Linked DNA regions of Homo sapiens: all the other regions are linked to region 3. Evidence: promoter capture Hi-C in 16 types of primary human blood cells and fetal thymus (Javierre and others, 2016). All regions are on one chromosome and are shown on one strand. Each heading gives the region's core, a stretch centred on a gene start or on the middle of the fragment in contact. The rest is flanking DNA. Distances are from core to core; before and after follow the strand shown.

Evidence for each region. Contacts are between HindIII fragments. The CHiCAGO score rates a contact against its expected background, and 5 or more counts as called.
Region 1: a contact is called between a fragment that was not itself captured here and the fragment with the promoter of CD244 in region 3, in 1 of 17 cell types (fetal thymus). The highest score is 6.3, in fetal thymus.
Region 2: a contact is called between the fragment with the promoter of CD84-AS1 here and the fragment with the promoter of CD244 in region 3, in 11 of 17 cell types (erythroblasts, total CD8 T cells, fetal thymus and 8 more). The highest score is 9.7, in erythroblasts.

The regions. Positions count from the first base shown.
Region 1 is chr1:160,437,080-160,439,779 of GRCh38, forward strand. It overlaps LOC105371467 (a long non-coding RNA gene), which reads right to left and starts at 1,098. Exons shown (of 3, transcript XR_922202.3): 1 at 1,003-1,098; 2 at 1-211. The HindIII fragment of the contact is 2,708 bases long and covers 1-2,643 here.
Region 2 is chr1:160,535,736-160,538,435 of GRCh38, forward strand. CD84-AS1 (CD84 antisense RNA 1) reads left to right here and starts at 1,361. Exons shown (of 2, transcript NR_188634.1): 1 at 1,361-1,452. The HindIII fragment of the contact is 1,945 bases long and covers 478-2,422 here.
Region 3 is chr1:160,861,485-160,864,275 of GRCh38, forward strand. CD244 (CD244 molecule) reads right to left here and starts at 1,403. Exons shown (of 9, transcript NM_016382.4): 1 at 1,133-1,403. The coding sequence starts at 1,193. RefSeq lists an enhancer at 1,219-1,268. The HindIII fragment of the contact is 2,100 bases long and covers 1-1,430 here.

The sequences.
Region 1 (2,700 bases), core at 40-2,539, 420 kb before region 3:
GTTCAGATGTTGTTTTCCCCTTGAATTTTCAGCAAACCATGTGGAACCTCTGCTTCCTCAGATTCCTGGTATGGTGCCATATTGTGGTCAAAGAGATGTCCAAGAAGTCCTGTTTGCCTCAGATAGTACCTCACAGAGTGTCAGTATCTTAGGAGGTCATTACTGGTCCAGACATTCTGTCTTCATTAAGTAATCAAAGGGAAATAACATTCTGGAAATGGAATAAAACCAGCCATACATATAAAAGAGCAATTATAAATAAGAATGTTAATTTATCAATTTATAACAACTGATAGATCTAGTTTGGGAACTGGAGTTGGTCATTTGTACAGGTATATTCCTGATGGGACAGTTCAAATTGATAAATTAGCATTTGTCTATTAAATACAGAACCAGACAGGAGGAATTGGAAATTCTGAAGGACATCATTAAATGTTGCAGTACTTCAGTCCCCTTTTCTCTTTTCTACATACTACCCATGGGTATCCTCATCTCATCCCAAGGCTTTAAATACCGTCTGTGTACCAGATAGCACAGCATAGTAGTAATGAACATGGGCTCTGGGGTCAACCTGCCTGGGTTTTTCTTCTGGTTTTGCTCCCAGTAGCTATGTGGCCTTGAGGAAATTTTCTGTTTCTTTATCTTTAAAATGAAGACAATAACACAGTGCCAACCTCACAGGGATGTTGGGAGTGTAACTCAGAAAATATTCATAAACTACTTAGATATGCCTGGCATGTAGTAAGTACCCAATAAATGTTAGTTATATACCAAGTACTCCCAAATCTCTATTTCTTGCCCTGACTTCTCCCCAGAATTCTAGACTTATAAATCTAAGTGCTTATTTGACATCTTCACAAAGACATCTAAGAGATATTTCACACTTACTATAGAAATTAGTAGCCTAGGGAGATAAAGATAATGTTTGTCTGTGGGGCAGAGAGCAATGATTTTACCAGGCTCTTGAGTACGGATCTGTGTCAGTAAGCAATCTGCGCTTACTTTCAGTTTCAAGTGACTGGTGGTGATCCAGGTTCACGTAAACAAATTCTGTTTGTGGTCTACCCAAACATCTATATCCTCACTACCAACACCATTTATTTTAGCTGTGGGGACCCCTTAACTAGTGGCCACTGCCTTATTGCTTGTTGGCTTGTGCCATGGGGCTTACTGTTTCATCATAATAATAGCCCTCCCTCCTTCTGCCCAGAGGAGAAAGAACAAATACCATTTGGACAGCTTGCTTCAATCCAAACTAATACCCCTCAGCCCCATTAACAGGTAGAACAGTGGGTATCCTCATTCTCCACCTCTCACTCACTACTTGGATGAGAACAGTCACTACTGGATCCCCAGGAGTCTCTCAGATCTTCCAAACAGGCCTGCAAAAGGGCCATTGTACTTTCCTCTTCCCGAAAGCCCTATCTCTGTCAGCATCTCGTCCTCATTGCCAGAACTTCCAACAACTATGAAAAGCCTGAGATTTTATGCCACTTCTAAACTAATAAGTTTGTCTGTTAGTTTCATGGGTACTGACAAAAAACATGAGACTCCTGGGTCAGAGACAAAGGACTTTATTACACTTGGCCCAGCAGGTAGCATGAACTTCATATTTGCATTAGTTCTCCTTGCCTCTAAGTTCCACTGGGTGATACGGAGCAGCCAATCTGGATGCTCTGCATACAGTAAGTTTATGTCATGGTTGAGGAACCCTGGGATTAGGAAACCCTAGTATTTTAAAGAGCGTTTACTTGAGACACAAATATCTTAATACTGTGACCACTTTATGTAGTTCTTTCCCAGACTTCCTTTTTACTGCTTTTCCAATATTGTTTTTCATTTAAGTGACTGACAAGGTGGTCAACCTGTTAACATGCTGCCCATGATTCAATGTAGATATGTACCTCAGGCAATCTCTCCTTCCAAACAAAGTGTACAACTAGATATGCTGCTTCAAGTTCTGCCTGCTGGAGAGATTTTCTTTCATTACTGACTTTGAAGCCTCTACTGAGTGAGGTTCACTGTAGTGGAGAGGCCATTCTCATTCATCTGGGGCTGACATAGCATGCAAATCCAGGCCCATGCTCTTTCTTCCTCCATTAACTGTTCATAGGGAATTCCTCATGAGGCCGTCGGTGTAGAGCAAGGGAGAGGTGGAAGAGTAGCTGGAATTACAAAGTCCCCTGCTTATGCAGCATACTTGTGTATTCTGGACCTGTTCAGACCCATTTTTGTATATTCCACTTCTGTTTTATAATGAATTCCTGTTAGGTAATTCAGTTTTATATTTGGTGGTTCAGAAAACACCCAGTTCATGATGGACAGTTTGCGTTGCATGATAATTTGGTGTCCCGAGGCAGACATTCAATTTCTACCAGCTCTCAGAAGCAAGCTAGGAATTGCTTTTCAAATGGCGAAAGGTTGTCAGCACAAGTGGACATCAGCTTACTGCAAATCTCCTGGGGGGATATCAAAGACTTCCAAGGAGGAAAAAAATCAATCTAAATTCGATTACAAAGAAATGCAAGAGACTCCAGGCCTCAATTTCTTTGCTTTGTATAAAGGTAAAAATGATAGATTTATTACAATTTGAGTTATAAATTTAAATTTACAATTTAGTTACAATTTTAAAAGGCTAAAAGAAGCTTTTTTGTACCAAGCTGTAGAAAGTTTTAGTATAATTTGGTAAAACGATAAGAG
Region 2 (2,700 bases), core at 111-2,610, 330 kb before region 3:
TAGTTATAGGTCTAATCAGATTTTCTATTTCTTCATGATTCAGTCTTTGTAAAAATTGTGTCTACTTCATCTATGTTATCCAATTTGTTTGTAGTAGTCTCTTCTATTCATTTCTGAAAAATTGGTTGTAGTGTCCTCATTTTCATTTCCAATTTTAGTAATTTGAGCACTCTGTCTTTTTTTCCATAACCACTCTAACTAAATTTGCCAATTTCGTTGATCCTTTTAAGTAATCAACTTTTTGGTTCATTAATTTTCTCTATTTTATCTCTGGTCTAATCTTTATTATTTTCTTTATTTTGATAGCTTTGGGTTCATAGTAGTGGCACTTTCCCACTTGAGATCTGAATTAAGTGAAATAGAGACCAGTTCTTCATGGACTCCTAAGACAGATTAGAATATTGCAAATAAGATCTGTTATGTTCCCTCCCATTCAAGAGAGGGAACTGAGAAGTGAACTCCTGCCTCCTCTAAACAAGCTTTCTGTTGGGATGAGGAGGGGATGGGGCAAGGGCAAGAAAAATGCCATGGAACTTTTCCTACCATTTCAAAAGTGGCTTTTTCTTCATTGGGCATTTGATTGGTTGTTATAAAACTCTGACTGTTTTCCAGAGTCCCTATAAGGTTAATTCAACCATTTGGGTTTTTTTTTGTTTGTTTGGCTGTTTTTTTATTACTCTAAGTTGGGGGAAAGAGAGAGTTTGGAATTTCCTAGTCCACCACTTTGCTGACATCACTCTCTCTATCTCTATACTTTTACACTGATTTTTAAAAAGATGATAGAAATGTGTTCACATATTTCTTAAGTAACTAAAAATTAGTGACATTATCCAAGATCTTGGTGGATAAATAATATTCTCTCTGAAGAACCAATGCCCCTTAGAAAAATGACTGATTCTAGATGTGAGATAGCCTCTTATATGTATTTCTTGACTCACTTTACTAACAAGGATCTTCAATACAATACAGTTGAAGAGTAGCAGTGATCTTGTATTCACTGAATACAAGAATGGTTACTTGTATTCATTTCTTTATTAAGAATGCCTCTAATGTTTCCAATAAATGTTTGCTACATATGCTGTATCAAGTTGTAAAAGTTTAACCCGAGCCAGTCATTTGCTTATTTGCTCTCAGCTCTATTCCCACCCTTCTGTGTTCCTTGTTTTTCAGAAGGTTAGAAGTCTGCAAACTACATTTATCATTTCCATTGTCAGATGGCTTCTGATTAGATTTTGTCACTGGGTGGTATTGGTTAAAGTTGGATGGAAGGAATAAATTATATATTTTTCCATAATCTTGGTTTCTGGTAATGTTTTCAGTAGTGGCAGTGATAGCAGAAGATGAGTACCGCTTCAGGGTTCCTGGTGTAGCAGTGCAGTTCCAGCAAGCATGTCAGAAGTCTTGCTAGTGTGGTACTGGTGGGATCAGGCTTTGATGGTGGCATCTGCAGTGGTGAGTTATTTTTGTCTCCCAGAGTCTCACAGTTTTGATGAGACTGTGAACTCTTAGAATCTTGAAAGCTGGCAGCACTGATTCCCAAGACAAATTTCCATAGGGACAAAGTTCCATAGCAACTTCCTGGAATTATTAATTGCTTGGTAACCTCAGCTTCCCTGTTTTACTCCTCCATCACTTTTGGAATCAATTCCCTATATTCAGCTTGTTGAGTTTTCAGTATTTAACATGGTCTCAGTTTTTTAAAATTGGATATTGACTAAAACACATTCTATTTTTAGCTTTCTTGAAAACTTTTTAAATCAGTCATGGGTATTCAGTTTTATCAAATATATATTGTAGACTATGTCAGGATGATTATTTTTTTCATCTCCTTTAATCTGTTTGAACAGCAAATTACAATAGATGGTTTCTTAAAGATAAATCATCCTGGCACTCTAAGGATAAAATCCTACTTGGTCGCATTTTTTTTTCTTTTAATGCATTGCTTTAAAATTGACTGAAGTTTAAGATTTTTAACATTTATATTTATAAGTGAGATTGGACTATATCAGGATGTGGCAGACTTTTTCTGTAAAGGTCCCAGTAGTGAATATTGGACTTTGTGGACCATACAATCTCCTTTGCAACTACTCAACTCTGCTGGTGTAGTATGGAAGCAGCCATAATAAACACATAAAAGAATGCGTGTTGGCTGTGTTTCAATAAAACTTTATTTATGGATGCTGAAATTTGAATTTCACATAATTTTAACATGTCCCAAAATATTATTATTCTTTGAATTCTTTTCAACCATTTTAAAAATGTAAACTATTCTTAGTTCGTGGGTCAAATAAAAACAGATGGCAGACTGGATGTGGCCACACGCCATAGTTTGCTAACTCCTGGCCTATGTATCTCTTTGTGGGGGATCATCCTTATCTGGCTTTGGAATCAGTGTTATATTATAGTATTTAATGAATTTGGAAGCTTCCCACTGTTTTCTATGCCTTGGGACAGTTAAGATGACTGGGAATTATCCTTTCATTGTAGGTGATAGGACTAGCCCTTAAGACCATCTAGGCTGGTACACTTTTGGCAATTAGACCACTGAATATCTTTCCATTTTTTTTCAGGTTAAAGAATTTCTTCTAATTATAAACTAACTTTCTCTCTCTCTTTCTTTCTTTCCTTTCCTTTTCTTTTTTTTTTCTTTCTTTTCTTTCTTTTGAGAAAGAGTCTTGCTCTGTTGCCCAGGCTGGAGTG
Region 3 (2,791 bases), core at 153-2,652:
TAATTCCACGCTCTCCACCTCCGTGAAGCCCCTGCAGAGTCACTGATCTAAAATGCAGAACCCTGGCTGGGCATGGTGGCTCACACCTGTAATCCCAGCACTTTGGATGGGGGAGACCAAGGTGGGCAGATCACCTGAGGTCAGGAGTTCAAGACCAGCCTGGCCAACATGGTGAAACCTGGTCTCTACTAAAAATACAAAAATTAGCCAAGCATGGTGGCGCACGTCTGTAATTTCACCTACTCGGGAGGCTGAGGCATGAGAATCACTTGAACCCGGGAGGCAGAGTTTGTAGTGAGCCAAGATCACGCCACTGCACTCCAGCCTGGGTGACAGAAGGAGACTCTGTCTCAAAAAATAAATAAATAAATAAAAATTAAAAATGAAATAAATAAATTAATTCAATTAAATTAAATGCGGGATCCAGGTTTCAGAGCATCCTGGACCCCAGAACTGGAGAAAGAGGGGAGCAGCCCTCAGCTGGGATCCCCAGGAGTAAATGTTAGATGGCTCCATGCCTGGCTGACAGCTTTAGGTTTGCTGTGGAGCTTCCTCATATTGTCTCCTTCTTCTGCCCCAACCCTGCATGTCCCTAATAATTTCCAGGCTCCTGTGGCATCTGGATGGCTGAAGAAGCCGGGGAGATGAGGGACCATGCCTTCCAGCTTCTTCCTGGCTGCTGGCCTCGCCCTCCCCTCCCTGGGCTCAGCTTTCCTGCCTCAGGGGTCCATCCATCTGTCTCTGAGCTCGAGAACCACCCACTTCCTTGGGACTGCTTCTCTTCTCTCATGCCACAATTGGAGGATGCAATTTTCATCATCTTTACAGGCGGCTGGAAGGAGGCTTCTCTCTCCACTACACGGAAGGGTAAATTGAAGCCAGTGGGAAGGAATCTCCTCACCCAAGACTTCCTGGATTGCTGGTGGCAGGGCCAGATACCCCTCTCACAGACCTCCCAGTGCACTGCCAGCCTGTCCTGTCTGATTTAGACTGTCAGAGCTGTCAGGAGCTGCTCGGAGTCAAGTTCCAGATGACTGTGTATGTGGCACAAGCAGAGGCTCTGGCTCTGATCTCCCTGAGGGGCACAGCTCCTAGTCCCTCCCTCGCCCCACGCCAGGTAGGACCTCCTTACCTTTGCCCTGATACACCTTGAGGAGCAGGAGGAGTATGAGGGTGACCACTTGCCCCAGCATTTCCACAGGACAGAGGGGCCAGGCCAGCCCCTCCACCCCACCAGACTCTCTGCCGTGCACGGGCTCAGCAGTCCCCAGTCAGCAAGAGGACGATGGGGAGCAGAACTGCCTTGCAACCTGTCCAGCCACAGTTTCCTCAATTAGAGGCTGTTAACGCCTGCTGTGAGCTGACAAGGCCACTGAGAAAGCCCCAGCGCCTGGAGCTGGTCTGACAGTTCCCACAAGCCAAACTGGTGAAGCTTACCTCAAGTGGGAGGGTGCTTGAAGTTCACAGTGACTCACAAAGCCAGTTTCAAAATTGCATCCCGTTCTCTGCTTCAGCCCAAGAAGTCTTCCAATTCTCTGAATCCTATATGGAGAGACCCCCATGGGGGCCAAACAGCCAGTATCCCCAACTGTTCCATTCCAACAGACATTGTGGAGGTGGAGTGGAGAGGGGCTGGAGGAGGAGTGGGCTGAAACGTAGGGCCCTGGATAAGCGGCTAACAGTGTTGAAGGAAAGGAGGAGTAGCTGAGAGAACATAGGAAGAGACCTAAGGGCTGGAGGCACTAGAAAAATCTAGCAAGCCTGGGGATTCCATGCAAGTTGACACCAAAGTTTAAGCACATGTAAATTAAATTTGTTTCATAAGAATTTGTTTCACACGGGGCACAGTGGCTCACGCCTGTAATCCCAACACTTTGGGAGACTGAAGCAGGCAGATCACTTGAGATCAGGAGATCGAGACTAGCCTGGCCAATATGGTGAATCCCCACCTCTACTAAAAATAGAGAAATTAGCCAGGCTGGGTGGCGTGCACCTGTAATCCAAGCTACTTGGGAGGCTGAGGCAGGGGAATCACTTGAGCAAAGGAGGTGGAGGTTGCGGTAAGCCAAGATCACGCCACTGCACTCCAGCCTAGGTGACAGAGCGACACTGTGTCTCAAAAAAAAAAAAAAAAATTTTGTTTTGCTCCACATTTCCGATCTGTATGCCTAGATTCCCTCCCTTCCTCTTTTTCTACTTTTCTATAGTAGTCCTCTCTTCCCTCTTTTGTCTTCTCCCAGAAGTGACATGGGCCTATTTTTGCTGCCTTCCCATCCATGCTTGGACGCCACCCTCCAGGAAGGCCAGGCAGCTCTGGATCTGCTTAGGCCCCCATGGAGGGGTGGGGACAGCGGCATCCCCCCTCCCCTGGAACACTGTGCTTCAAGGCCAGGCCCCAGGGTTCATGCCTCTTTCTTTCTTCCTTCTGCTTTCCCCTTAACAAATACTTTCAGTTCCCTTCAAGTCCGCTCTTATTCTCTTTTTCCATCCTTTGGTCCATTTCCAGCCACCCTGTCTGAACTGGGCAGGGGGCAGCAGACTGACAGCTTCAGCTGCCAACAGAGGCAGCAGCGGGGCTCTGGACAGAGCGCTGGATTTAGAGTCAAAGACTTGGACTTGCAGCTCCCATTCAGCAACTTACAACCTATGTGATTCTGGCCTTGTTGCTGTCTGAGCCTGTAGGGTCAACAATACATCCTCCCCACCTTCACAAGGCAGTTTTCAGGATCAAATTAAAAATGATACTCCAGAATATGCACACAAAAAACACTGGACATAGATGAGGTTTTTG